3 separate regions of the Homo sapiens genome follow, and all the other regions are linked to region 1. Evidence: promoter capture Hi-C in 16 types of primary human blood cells and fetal thymus (Javierre and others, 2016). All regions are on one chromosome and are shown on one strand. Each heading gives the region's core, a stretch centred on a gene start or on the middle of the fragment in contact. The rest is flanking DNA. Distances are from core to core; before and after follow the strand shown. Region 1 holds the start of ACADL (acyl-CoA dehydrogenase long chain). Region 2 has its middle 110 kb from the start of MAP2. Region 3 has its middle 88 kb from the start of MAP2.

What was found. The method cuts DNA at HindIII sites, captures the fragments that hold promoters and counts their contacts. A CHiCAGO score of 5 or more calls a contact.
Region 2: a fragment that was not itself captured here is called in contact with the fragment with the promoter of ACADL in region 1 in 1 of 17 cell types (fetal thymus); the score reaches 5.9 in fetal thymus.
Region 3: a contact is called between a fragment that was not itself captured here and the fragment with the promoter of ACADL in region 1, in 1 of 17 cell types (fetal thymus). The highest score is 5.8, in fetal thymus.

The regions. Positions count from the first base shown.
Region 1 is chr2:210,222,812-210,227,668 of GRCh38, forward strand. It overlaps ACADL (acyl-CoA dehydrogenase long chain), which reads right to left and starts at 2,636. Exons shown (of 11, transcript NM_001608.4): 1 at 2,376-2,636. The coding sequence starts at 2,452. The HindIII fragment of the contact is 4,947 bases long and covers 1-4,338 here.
Region 2 is chr2:209,312,620-209,317,476 of GRCh38, forward strand. No RefSeq gene overlaps it. Among named protein-coding and RNA genes, the nearest start is that of MAP2, 110 kb to the right of the region's middle. The HindIII fragment of the contact is 2,152 bases long and covers 1,288-3,439 here.
Region 3 is chr2:209,333,215-209,338,071 of GRCh38, forward strand. No RefSeq gene overlaps it. Among named protein-coding and RNA genes, the nearest start is that of MAP2, 88 kb to the right of the region's middle. The HindIII fragment of the contact is 665 bases long and covers 1,756-2,420 here.

The sequences.
Region 1 (4,857 bases), core at 1,386-3,885:
TGTCCTGTTGCATCAAATAAACTAACATCTACTTTATCCCTATAATGGAAATGATCGGCTCCTTTTTCTTGCTAGTAGAGATAAAATTATAAAGCACGTATTTGTCCATATAGATTTTCCATACTTGAGAGTTTCCCTCAGGAAAAAAATATGCTGAGATTAGGAAACTGGGGCTGTAAGACACCGAATCATTTGTCAACATAATGAGTAAACAATAGAGCCAGAATTTAAAATCGAGTCTTACTGGATCTTAAAATTGAATAGCCTGTACTGTGTTAAGGAAATCTCTGCAATATTTTTAAGTAAAATATATAAAGACATAGGAAAGCAAAAGAAATGCCAAACGAATAAAGACTTTCAGGTCAGTCAAAGGTGGTCAAGAGAGAATATGCAGAGGGAAGAAAATCAAAACACTTGGCAGCAAGTTTATTGCAACATGTATTTCTCAGTCTAAAGATGAAGAAATCTGTAATGGAAAAATTGGCATTTTTTTCTCTAAGGCAATAAACTGCAACTAATCTTATTGGCTAGGCTATTATTGTTTTTTTAAAGTCTCCTACATTTTAAAAGGGAGACAATCTCCACCAGCACCTTCCACACACCTAGAAGCTGGTTATAAATACACAATCTCAGGCCCCATCCCAGACCCACTGAATCAGAAGCTGTATTTTAACAAGATTCCCAGGTGATTCCTTTGCACATTAAAGGTAAAAAAGCTGTTACAACAAAACTGTAGCCCCCCAGCCCATTCAGAGGGTCTCTCAGGTCTCCCTTTTTCCAGTGTTCTCTATTTGAGGGTAGATTTTCTTGCCATGCTTCAATCAAACTAACTTACGCCAATGGATAAAACAGAAGCAGATATAGTTATCTGGTTATCTTCTATTATGCCAGACATTAAGGGAGTTGTAAAAATGTAAAACAATGTCACTCTTTTCACTTTTTTTCTGTTTAGGAAAAGTTATTTTTCATAAAAACTGTTATTTATGTTAACATGTAATGAGCTTCTTATTGTAACTTTTAAATAAACTAAATATCTGTAAAGTTTCTCAGTTATGTAGATACCTTTCGATAACGACAGACGGATAGATATAACCTACATAAACAAAAGTCCTTTGAGGTCCTGTTTAAGAGCATAAGGGAGCCCTGTTATCAAAAAGTTTTGAGGCAGCACTTTGGGAGACCGAGGCGGGCAGATCACGAGGTCAGGAGTTTGAGCCCAGCCTGGTCAATATGGTGAAACCCCCGTCTCTACTAAAAAGATCAGCCGGGTGTGGTGGTGCGTGCCTGTAGTCCCAGCTACTCAGGAAAGCTGAGGCAGGAGAATTGCTTGAACACGGGAGGCGGAGGTTGCAGCAGTGAGCCAAGATCGCGCCACTGCACTCCAGCCTGGGCGACAGAGTGAGACTCTGTCTCAAAAAAAAAAAAAAAAAAAAAAAAGTTTGAGGATCACTGTCTTATAATGTTCCAAGGAAGAGTTAAGTATGTATCCTAAAGAAAAGTCACCTTCTCAGTGACGTCTTCCCAAATCTCCCCAGGAAAAGTAGGCATTTTGTTTCATAGCTCTCAAATAAAATTAGAGTAGCTTACACCAATGCTGTCATTCGCAAATTTGCCAGTTCCTTCACCCTTATTAAATAATGAATTCTCCATGCTTCCAATTTGTTTACCCAGTGAATAGATTTTATGCATCAGACAGTATCTGAAACTTTTGATCATATTATAAACACCACCTTAGTAGTCACTGAACTACTTAGACTCTGTCTTCATTAATCCTCTGTATTTAGTTAGATTTGTTGATATATCTAAAGCTAATTTCCTTGTTTGATGGAACCCTCGCCAGGTCATTTCTAGCCCAGTTTGTCCTGGACAATTCTGGTCCGCGCCGCAGCCCGGGCACTGAGTCCGGGTCCCAAGTTCACTACCGCGCGGCGAGTCTAAGCCGTGGGGAACGCCGGGTTCACAGCTCGAACTGGGACACAGATCGCAGCCCGCGCTCCTGCAGCCGGGCCCAGGGGGTGACCACCTCCTCCCAAAACGCAGGCTCCCGGGTCCCACTGCAGGCCGCTGAACTAGACGGGTTGGATTGGGGCTCCGGAATGAACTTCTGGAGAAATCTTTCGGCTTTCCCCGACGTGGGCTCGGCGGTCTGTTCTCGGGGCGGCACGGCTGACACCCCTTTTTCCTCCGCCCAGATGCTGGTTGCACCCAGTCCGCGGGATCCAGGAAAGGAGGCCAGCTCTAGCCCGGCGCCGGAGTTGGGGAGCACTCCCAGCCGCGCGCGCACCGCCCTGCTTCAAGCCAGCGACAGGAGTGACTCGCTGCCCCACCCCACAGCCTCCCGGCCTGCAGCCGCGGAAGTCCCGGCTGGCACTCACCGCGCGGCGGGCAGCTGGCGCGGCGCACGGTGGCCGCCCAGGACGCGTAGGGACCCTCGGAGAAGGCGTGCGGCCATGTCCGAAACACAGGGGCGGCGGGGCGACGGAGGCGACTCTGCGGCTACTCGGCGACTCGGGGCAGGGTCCCCGGGAGGGAGGACGATCAGCTGAGGCGTCCACCTGTGGTGTCCTCCCAAAAAAGCGCTCGCGCGCGCCCTTCCGGAGCCCCAACCACGCCACAGGCTGGTCGCGAGGGAATACGCCCGTCTTGGCTGTCAGCAATAGGATTTTACAGCGAAACTGCTGCCTTTGCTTGCAGCATTCTTTCTTGTTTATCGAAGCAGCTCTGAGCCTTTTTAGCGTCCTGAAGCGCTTTGAGTAACGGATGAAAGCTATGGAGCCCCCAAATACGCGCAAATACCTAACCATAAAAATGTACGTGAAGTTTATTTTGTAACCTTGGAAATTGATTTACTTAAAGTAGGCTGAATAGTTTGAGCAAACCCTTGAAGGTGATAGAGTTAGCCAGGCATAGCTCTGGGAGCCCATGCTATTTATTGGTAATAGCAAGTAGAACGAATTAATCCGACACAGGATTTAGTAGAGACAGGATTTCACCGTGTTAGCCAGAAAGGTCTCGGTCTCCTGACCTCGTGATCCTCCCGCCTCGGCCTCCCAAAGTGCTGGGATTACAGGCGTGAGCCACTGCGCCCAGCCCGTTCTGTTAATTCTTAAATGTCCAAGTTCAAGTACATCCGTTGAACAATTACTCTCGCCCTCAGTGACATTTCAACTAATAAAAGCATGCCCTGTAGAACTCTCAGGTAAAAGATGTGAAATATCCCTCAAGGGAAACATAAATGGCTCAAAGGGTTCATGAAATCCTGGGTGATTGGCTTAAACTATCTGGGTAGTTTGCTTGACTTTTCATTTAATTTTAGCACAGCTAACTCTACATTCATAAACATATTTGTTCTTACTTCACAAAAGGAAACTCAGTAGAAAAAAACTGATAAACATGCTAACCAAATGTGATTCAAATTAACTTCACCAAGAATGGAACAAACTAGCATTAGAGACACCTGTATTGAAAGGAACACCACATTATTTATATACTGTTGGGAAAAAAGGCTGAGGGTTGGGAAGAAAGCTGAGGCAGGGCTTGCATGACTGACATAATGTCCTCTGGAATGTGTCTAGACTTGCTGGCTCCTTGCTTTTAGCCCTCCTAGGCTCCTATTCCCATTATCTCAAGTAGCAGAACATGTTCCATACAAATGTAAACCTCCATTTACTCACCTGTAAATGAAGAATAACAATATCTATGTCATAGGGTTGTTGGAAAGATTTTTCAGATAACGGAGGTCAGGTGGTTGGCACAAAGACAGGAATACAATAAACATTCGATAAATGGTAATTATTATTGTCATCATTGAGAAATACTCATATTTTGTAGTAGATAAAAGAAAGAACAAATCCTTTAAAAAAACCCTCTACTTTGTGTATTCCAATGCCTATTCAATTAGAAGGCAAATGTTCAAGAAAAGGAACTGCTTATGCTTTTCCTCTGATACCTGGTAGTAAATGTCATGGACTACACGGTCCTTTCTAAACCCCATGAAAATGCCAGCTTCTTTAACCCAAATAACTGCCTGTGTCTGTATCTGTATCTGTATCTGCCTGTTTATAAATGTATAAAAAGTGAGTGATTAGAAATTATATATATATTTTTATATTTGGTTTGAAGAATACCTTGATGACATAATTGAGAAACTGAAATTGGCATCTGTTAAATGTGTCTGAAATATTTTCTTTTCCCTTATAGAGGACAATGGTCTCAAAACTAGTTACTGTTTTATGTTTTGGAACATTTTCTTTAAAAAAATAAATAGCAATTTAAGTATCTGTAACCAACAATTTTGACAGTAAACTTTATTGTCAGGATTAAGAATGGATTTGTTTAAGCTTCCAACTTCAAACCCTAATCTGCTTCTAAATTGCTTCTCTATGAGCCATACCTATAATATAATATGACCAAAATATTAATCATACACATTTATAAGGAAAAACTGCTCAAAGTAAAAGAAAAGTTATAAAATTTATCTTCTAGGGCTCTCCTTTTTTTTTTTTTTATAGTCATTGTATACAGAGCTCATTAGAAAAAGTATTTATTTATTTCCCCTGGTGCAAAGCAAAACTTATCTAATCAAATATAGAAGTGTTGCATAAGTTTTAGTGCATTACAGTCTTAGACTAAAGAAATCTAAGCATCTGTAATTCTGTAATATAGATCTTGGACAATGTCACAAGGATGATTGCTAAACCATTTTGCTTGCATAATACAGAATTATTCCTCTTCATAGCTGATTTGTATTTAGGGTAAGATAAGCCTTCATGGGAAGATTTTGCTGGCAATACATGCCCTTTGCCATAGTAATTCCACCTGGTCTCCATTTAACAATCTTTTAAGGCCAGACACGGT
Region 2 (4,857 bases), core at 1,114-3,613, 910 kb before region 1:
CGCCTGTAATCCCAGCCCTCTGGGAGACTGAGGCAGGTGGATCACCTGAGGTCAGGAGTTTGAGACCAGCCTGGCCAACATGGTGAAACACTGTCTCTACTAAAAACACAAAAATTAGCAGGGTGTGGTGGCTGGTACCTGTAATCCTAGCTACTTGGGAGGCTGAGGCAAGAGAATCACTTGAACCTGGGGGGCAGAGGTTGCAGTGAGCCAAGATCATGCCAGTTCACTCCAGCCTGGGCAACAGAGCAAGACTCCATCAAAAAAAAAAAAAAAGAAAAGAAAAGAAAAGAAAGAAAGAAAGAAAAAAGAGTGATTTTATTTCTAGTAGGCTATTTCTAATAGGCTAGTATTTTGTAAGCTTTAAGCAGACACCAGCTCAATATAATATTGAAAAAAAAAAACCCCACATATAACCTTGGTCCTTTCAGTAAGCTGAGCACCCAAAATGGCATCTTATAGTTTCTCATAAATTGCAGTTCAACAATGTTGAATATGATAAAGTGGTTATCAAAAGTTAGAGCCATTTTTTAAAAAGTTCCCAGATACCTGGGTAGCTAAGGTTATTTAATAAATTGTTATGATGTAATGCTACTAAATCTCCTAAGATTAAATTTAAGGTTTTTTTAATGAGTGCTCAGGTTTAAAATAACTTTGTATTTTTCTCTGATGTTAAATTTTTGATTTGTGCCTTTAGAATCTGTAACTGTCACTCCTTTTCATATGATAAAATTATTTGATAGAACAAGAAAATAAATCCCAAAATTATAAAATCAGCACCACTATTTCTTTGAAATTTTAGCTGCTAAAGGATTCATGTCATTCTCAAACACAATGATAAAGAAATCAGCAATTTTCAAAAATCATGTGACTTAAATCCTTTTTGTTACACTCATTTCTCTCATTTAAGTTTCTGAGAGAACTATTGATTTGTTCTTTTTCTCTGAAAAGATTAAACACCTGGATTTTATCATGTACTCACATTTGAAATTCAAATCATTTGTATATAATGCATTAAATTATTTGAAAAGTCAAATATCACAGATTAGTGTGAGATGATAGCATACTCTGTATGCTATGATATAAAGTGGTTCAGAAGCATGTAATAAGTTCCTGAAATGTCTGTTCCCACTGTATGTAAAATGGCTCACTTTTCAGCAAGATCGGTGATTCCTTATATAAATCTGTTAGCAGCTTTTTGATTATAAGAGGATGGACAGTTCTTTCTCATGAGTTAGTTTGCAAATATTAGTTTTCCTTTTAAAAAGTCCGAACAGAGAACCAATAAGCTTCTTTAACTTTTACAACTGCCTAATACAATTTAAATTACATTTATTAACTTAGTTCTGCAGGTTTGGAAAGTATTTGCACTTGGCATATCCTATCACTCCATCTCCTGTCAGCTAATGTCCTCAGTAGTCTATTTCCAGTTACATGTGTGGAGATACAAGATTGGTGCAATATATTTTTACCCTTTTTAATTCTTGTAGTTGCATGCTGAAATTATTTAATGTGGGATTAGTTGAATGGTGTCTGTCATAGAAAGGGATTGTTGTAGAAAATTTGTTGTCTTTTACCACCTTTAGTTCACTGCTTTTTAATGGCATATAACACTCAAATTTTCCTTAGAAAGGAGTAATAAATAATTTCTGTCAGTCAAAATAATTTAAACTGCTGAGAGGAGTAGAAGGTAACAAGATTTTGGCAAAGCATAAAAACCATGAAGAATCAAGCGAAAAGAAGAAATTCCCAAGATATGTAGTTTAAAATGTCTATAAAGAGATAGGTAAGTGAGGAAATGGTACTACTGCTTATTGTGGATTTGGAAATTATTTTAAAGACAACATAATTTTCATGCATTCAAAGATAGTATTTTGATTGCATTACATAGCTCAGTTCATGGGGAAAATCTCGTACCTGTAATGTTTTCAAGGTAATTCGAAAAATTGTTAAGTATATGTGAGAAATTTGTGTGCTCAAATAACAAAGGCATATTTTTATTTTTATGTCAACTTAATATCAAACTAGGAGTAAATATATTTAGCAATACATATGCTTGACAAAAGATTTTTAACTAAGATGTTTATTTTCTCAATATTAAGTGTAAAAGAAGGGATAAACTAGATTCCTGTTTTTCAATCTCTGTGATTGTCTTTTAACTCTACAGATGTATTTGGAGCATCAGAAAAGTTCACAACATTACATTAGAATGAGTCATACTCTCTGTTCTCAAAGAGTTCACCATCTAATGGAAAGACAGTTACCAAACAATAAAATAGCTAACAATAAGGGAAGCAGAGCAGCAAAGTTTTATGTCTATGTAGGGCTGTCAGAGAAGGATTCACAAAAAAATAGTTACGCTACTTCTTGTGAGAAAAGAAGACTTACATTATCAAGGTATTGAGGTATAGCTCGGAGTATGTGTTCCTGCAAAGGGAACAAACTGTAAAATGAATTAAGTATAAGAGAATGAAGCATTCACATGTTGTTTCAATGTTTTCTGTTTAGAATAACCCAATTTACCATGGTTTTTTATCTCTTGTTTTCATCTAGTCCAACTTAGTTGCTTTATTACTCCAATAAATTAACACTGGATTATTATAGGACAATAAATGAATTAATGGCAGTCAGATTGGTTTGAAGAGACTGAGGACAGTGAGGAATCCTAAAGACCAGAAATAATAAAATTTCAATGTGATGAGAGGCTTATAATTAAGAATCTGTATGTGTCTTCAAAAATAATTAGGTCTCAAATTGTGGCATCTAAAAAGTTACCTTGCAAACACTACTTCAACATTGTGATCTCGCTATTATTATATCTTAGAATTTGATTTTGTGAAACACTACTTCAACATTGTGGTCTTGCTCTTATTATATCTTAGAATTTGATTTCGTGTCTATGTGCTGAAACCACTTCATGGTACTAAGTTAGGTATGTGCTAATAGTTCTTGAGATCATGAGGATACTATTTCTCAGCAGATAATGCACTGAAGTGTTCATTTTCAAAATAAATATACTTAAGGTGCAATAGTGCACATTATGAGTTTCAGATTGTTATATTACCATTAAAATAAATTCTAAGAATATACCTGCTTGGAAAATTCTAATTAGTGTGATTACTATGGAACTGGAAATAATTATTTTAAAACTCGTAAGAGCGTATTTTGAAAAATAATCAGCAGTAGAATAAGAAACTGCCAGATGAGTCACTAGTCTAAAAAGGTAAAATATTTTTCCTTTGAATTCTGCTAAATATATTACTTCTCAGATTCAAGGATAGTGCATTGAAAATTACTTTGTAGAATTTTTCTACGAAAAATATGATATGGGAAAGTCCTGTTCAGCAGGAGAAAAAAACAAGAAAAAGAAATTAGGAAATACGGACACATGAACCAAAGGAATTGATTTGAAATTTACTTATAATTCACATTAGCCCTAAGCTTCAGTCTGGGAGTTATGACTAATAATAAAAAATAAAGAAATAATTATTTTGTGATCCATTATTTTAAAACCAGTAAATACTAACAAATTATTTATATACTTGCATATATTAGTCAACTGTTCTCACAATAATATGCATATCAAACAACTCTAAAACTCAGTAGTGTCCAATAGGAAGCAATTACTTATTATTCATCTGACTCAAGATCTGCTGAGGCTCAGCTGACTTCAGATAAGCTCAAGAAGGCTCGTATTTAAACTGTGGAATATGTTTGGTTTGCTCCATGGGCCTCTCATTCGTCTGAGATCCATAGGCTACCCAGAATATGTTCTTTTCTTGGCAGTGACATTAATAGAAGAGAGAAAACCAAGCCATATGACTAACTACTCTTCAACACTCTGCTTGTTTCAGACCCACTAACAGCCCATGGGCCAAAACAAGTCTTGTGGCCACACTCTGCAATAATTGAATGGAAAAGGGTATTCTGTTCACCATGAAGCTATCGCAAGGGTGGGGATGCAAAATCTGGCTACTAAGAAATAACAAATGAAGACTGATAAGTAAATCTGCCACAACTTTAATATTTGTTTATAAAAAGAAAAGTTTGCATGTATTTTTCTGAAAATTTGGATTTTAAAAAGTGTTTCTAAGAATTAATACATGTGGATAGTAGTAAGTACCCAAAACTAAGAACAGAAATGCTTAGAGATAAATAAATGCTTACATATGCATGCATACATGTATACAGGCCAGTCAGAAGGAAGAAGAGAAAAAATAAGCAAACTCATTGAGGAAGTACAGGAAAGAAAGCACAGAGGAGAAATTGGGAAAACCTGTGCTGAGAGATGTCTCTGGTCCTGCCAGTTTCCAGGTACAGCTCCATTATCCATGCACCATTACTGGTTTTGATATACAAGTCCTGCAATTTTAACACCTACGAAAGAAACTTACATTTTTATCTTCATGCATACAATACACAATGTGCATAAGTGAAGCATTTTATCTCAAATGTAAATGTATACAGAATGCTGTGTTCCTCAGATCTATCCTTATGTTTCAGTGTTATCTATTAAGAGGAAAAAAGAAACAAGAGTTAAAATTGAAATAACTTAAATCTTTCAACTTCCCTCTGACTTTAAGGAGAAAAGAATTTCTTCATTGCCATTTCTATTCCCACCTTCCAATTATTCAAACCAAGTTGCATTCAGAGAATAGCACTGATTGCTGTTTAGCATTCTATTTAGTAATGGGTATGTTATTCTCTGGATTATCTGTTTGCTATTATCTAGTTCTAGATATAGAGAAGGAAATAGAGCAAAAATCTGGACCCTTTGTATCACAGATCTATGAGTTTGAAAAGAGACTCTGGATTGTCCAGTTCACAATGGATCCGGCAAGCCTGCGCAGACTGATA
Region 3 (4,857 bases), core at 838-3,337, 890 kb before region 1:
CAGAGATATAGATCAATGGAACAGAACAGAGCCCTCAGAAATAACGCCGCCTATCTACAACTATCTGATCTTTGACAAACCTGAGAAAAACAAGCAATGGGGAAAGGATTCCCTATTTAATAAATGGTGCTGGGAAAACTGGCTAGCCATATGTAGAAAGCTGAAACTGGATCCCTTCCTCACACCTTATACAAAAATTAATTCAAGATGGATTAAAGACTTAAACGTTAGACCTAAAACCATAAAAACTCTAGAAGAAAACCTAGGCATTACCATTCAGGACATAGGCATGGGCAAGGACTTCATGTCTAAAACACCAAAAGCAATGGCAACAAAAGCCAAAATTGACAAATGGGATCTAATTAAACTAAAGAGCTTCTGCACGCAAAAGAAACTACCGTCAGAGTGAACAGGCAACCTACAAAATGGGAGAAAAATTTTTTTTAAAAAACAAGTGAAGTTAGGACACTATGACTCTTCACTATTACTTATCATGTAAAAGATGAGAAAACAGAACTACAGATTGTCTCTTTACCATGGTAAAGTTAGGAGCTCCAAACTAATCTGTGTTACAAAATGTAAAAAACCAATAAAGGATTACTCTAAACAAAGACTGAAAACTTAGATTTCTGATGTAGAAAAATAATACATAATAATGACCACAAATGCGTTTTCCCTAATTACACTTGAAATATGCTTATATTTTGTGTTTTTTTCTATTTTGTACACATGATATATTTAATGAGGTATTTTAAATGAGGACTGAGTAAGCCCTTCCTCTGTGTTGCCTACGTTTTTCACACCCCCAACCATTCCACCCTCACCCTAGCTTGTTTTGTTCTCACATAAAACTTTAAAATTTGATTAAGTAAAAATAATTGCTTTCAGATGACCTATTATGTTCCATAAGCTTTACATAGTTTATTTCATTTGATCTTTACAATAAAACTTGTACTACTGCCATCTCCACTTCTGTCTCCCCATACTTTTTTAAAGAAATAATCATCTTGATGTAACTGAATAACTTAAGACATTGATATATGAGTGTTGCATTACAATTATATAACAACTATATAAAAAATTTAAATAAGCAACTGAAAGGCATAAATAAAACATACTCTTTGGTATTTTCAATTGTTCCTGTGACTGCTACCATATGAATAACCACTCTAGGCTGCTGAAGAATGAGACACGTCATCACCATCATCCCAGCTAACACCTATCCAACTGCTAGACACATGAATGAGGCTATTTAGGTGATTTTTACTCAATATTTCTATTATTTATGCCAATAAGAGTGACAGTACCCTGTAAAGAAGCTACTATGCAATGGGACCCAGAGTTCTTTTAGCGCTAAAACGACATTTTAACAGGTGAAACCTAAAGCTGTATAGCATCTATTTGACCTGTAGAGGGCACCAGCGGCCCAGACAGCAGAATTAATTGCATTTCATTCGGTTTAGACTTGGAAATAAAAACTCTCCTTGCCCTGCACACTCGCTGTGGATTGTCGATGCCAGTGAAAGCCAGCATTAACACTCCCCTGGAGATTTCAGCATGCCATCTCATGGCTGAGTTTCAGATGGGGCCTCAAATTCATATAATTTAGTTCTATTAAAAGCTTTGCAAATTATTAAGATTATTTTTTATCTTAATAAAAGATAAACAGTTTTTAGAAAATTAGGATACAATCCAAATTCTAAAAATTATTAAATCATTTGTAGTGTCATAATAGAAAAACACTCAGAATAGTGAAGCTTCATTATTCAGTCTAGCAAAAAACCTGTTCACCTGAATTAGCAAAAAAGTTCCAATTTTTCTGTAAATACATTTCTTCCTAATTAAGTTAATATCCCTTGATTCATTCAAGTTATTTCCTTAAAAAGGTATATTAAGTTTAAAAGCAAAACAGACCAAATGCATGGCCTTTGCTATCAAACCCCCCTAGCCCAAATCTCACCTCTGTCACTAGTTAGCTGGGTGTCAGAGGTCACTTCTCTTAGCCTCAGTTCCTTTATCTGTAAATAAGAAAAATAAAAATACTTGCTTTATATTATTGTGAAAATTAAATTAGACAATGTGTAAAAATGCTTAGCACAATGTAAGTGCATACAGTCTTGGCAAACAATGATTCCATTACTGAATAGGTACTATTAAGTTGTTATTAGCTTATTAATAGTTTTTGTATAGTGCTTGCTGCAAGGAAAATAATTTCTCTGACATGTCAATACACTAATATTTAAATTAATGTATACAGTTTCTAGGAAATCCTCAGCCACATTTACTTTTGTCTTGGAGATTCACTTTTAGTCAAAGAAGAAAATATTCTTAGGGCTAGTGAAGAGGGTAGCTACTAAAACACGCATTTTCAAACATATTTTTAGATATTAAATAGAAATTTGTTCCCTTGAAATTTTGGAAGCTTAATTCTTGCAATGTTATAAGTAATTAGGTGGCTATAAAGATAATTCATTAATTGAATATAAACAGCTTAATTTTTGTCTGAATTAGGCAAAAGTATGAATTGCAAAACTTTTATCAAGTTTGAAGAAATCTATTATTAAAATAAGAATATGGAACAAGAGGCATTTAGGCTTGAGTTCAAAGTAATAATCATGAAATGAGAAAAAGAAAGATATCCTATAATCACAAATGAAGATAAATCATACCTGTCAATAGTATTTATACATCAAGTTACAGATCATTAAAATAATAAAAGAAAACTGCAAGAAATATGAGTGGAAATAGATAGGGACACAATTAATCCTCACATGTGTAGGGATAAAATTAATCCTCAGATGTGTAGAATCCTCACATCTATAAGCTCAGACACGGAAGTATACAAAAAATACAGACTATAAATAAAAAATAACTAAGTAGGTCTTAGAGAGATACATCCAAATCAATACCTTGAAAATTAACTGGCCTATTTATTGAACATTCACTGCAAAATAAATTGCTAATAAATGTCAAAAAGTAATTTTATGTTCATTATTATTGTTGTTGATAATAGTAACAATACTATAACCTAGAAATAAAATTTGCAGTTAACATATAAGACCTACATAAAAGAAAAATTTAAAAACAATTGAATGGCTTGAAGAAAACATATACTTTGAAATTTTCAGTTGTCTCTGTCAGCACTATGCTGTGAAAAGCTCAGGCTAGAGCTTTTCTGGAGAATGAAGACATAGCATCACCTTCACCCAGCTAACATCTAGTCAATGATAAAGCTATAGATTATGAAGCTATTCTTGACAATCCAGGCCTAGATGAGCTGCCAGCTGACCACAGAATTACCGTGCAGCTGACCCAAGAAAATAATAAATATTTGCTGTTGTAAGCCACTGAGATTTTGGCCAGGTTATTATACCACAAATTATGATACTTCCTCTTAGGCAAGAGCCAAGACAAGCTCAAGCTGGCTTTCTCTTGACATGGCCCACAACAGGTACAGTAGAGGAGAAAATTACACAATTTTGCCTTGTTCCATTGAGAGTGTAGGATGGTTCTGAGGCAACAGCAGCCTCTTTCTTATCATCTCCAGAAAGCCAGCCCAGGCCTTGCCTTCTGAGTTTCTCAGGCATGAGTTACTCAAACATGGTGGTAGTAAGGATAATAGATTAAGCTCACCAGCTCGGCTTCCTCCAAACCCTTTCTCTTGTCAGAAAGAAAAAGAAAGCATCTTGACTTTTGCTGTCAGGAAGAATCATAGAATACCAATACTCTACCCACAAATCCTCTTTGGATTTCCAATCATTTTTTCTTAGCTTATCCAAGATCTGTTTAGATATTAGAGGTAGATGGTCAGCCAATGATGGAAACGAATATTCTGCTACCTTCTCTTTTAAGTCTCACATCTCACTATGGACTGTGCATCTACCATTTTGATGCCTTGGAGAAAATTGAGTCTAAAGAAATTTCACTGCAATGTCTTTTTATCCTGAATTTATAGAATCTTTGCATGAGGCAGTCCTTTTGCAATTTGGTTTGAAAGGCAGATGCTTTACATGGATGTTATGTAATGTTGTGTTATTTATTCTTCCTACTTTAATCTAGTATTGCCTCTAATATTCGTCTTTTCAAGGTCCCAAGAACCTCCATACTACTAAATCCACTTTGCCTTTCTTTCTTTCTTTTTCTTTCTTTCTTTCTCTTTCTTTCTTTCTTCTTTCTTTCTTTCCCTTTCTTTCTTTCCTTCCTTCCTTCCTTCTTCTTTCTTTTTTCTTTCTTTTTTTTTGGCAAAGTGTCGCTGTGTTGCCCAGGCTGGAGTGTAGTGGCATGATCTCGGCTCACTGAAACCTCCGCCTCCTGGGTTCAAGCGATTCTCCTGCCTCAGCCTCCCAAGTAGTTGGAACTACAGGCAACAGGCACCCGCCATCACTCCCTGCTAATATTTGTATTTTTAGTAGAGAGGGGTTTTCACTATGTTGGCCAGGCTGGTCTTGAACTCCTGACCTCGTGATCCGCCTTCGTCAGCCTCCCAAAGTGCTGAGATTACAGGCATGAGCCACCACACCTGGCCCCACTTTGCCATTTTTAATCCTCTTGTTAGTGGACATCTCAGGAGCATTGTACATGATAGAAACATTTTTTGTACTTGGTTTCCAGAGCACGATATGATCCTGGTTTTCCTCCTATCTTATAAGCTGATTTTGCTCATTTTTTTTTTTGGTTCAATTTACCTTGTCTTCTGGATCTCTAATTAACTTTAATGTCTAAGTGATCTCAACCAGCAACATGACTTAAATACCATCTATACACTAAAGAGTCTCAAATGTATGTCCTGCTCTGTCTTTTCCCCCTGGTTTGCATATTCAGTTGCCTACTTGACATCTCCACTTGGCTGTCTCATAG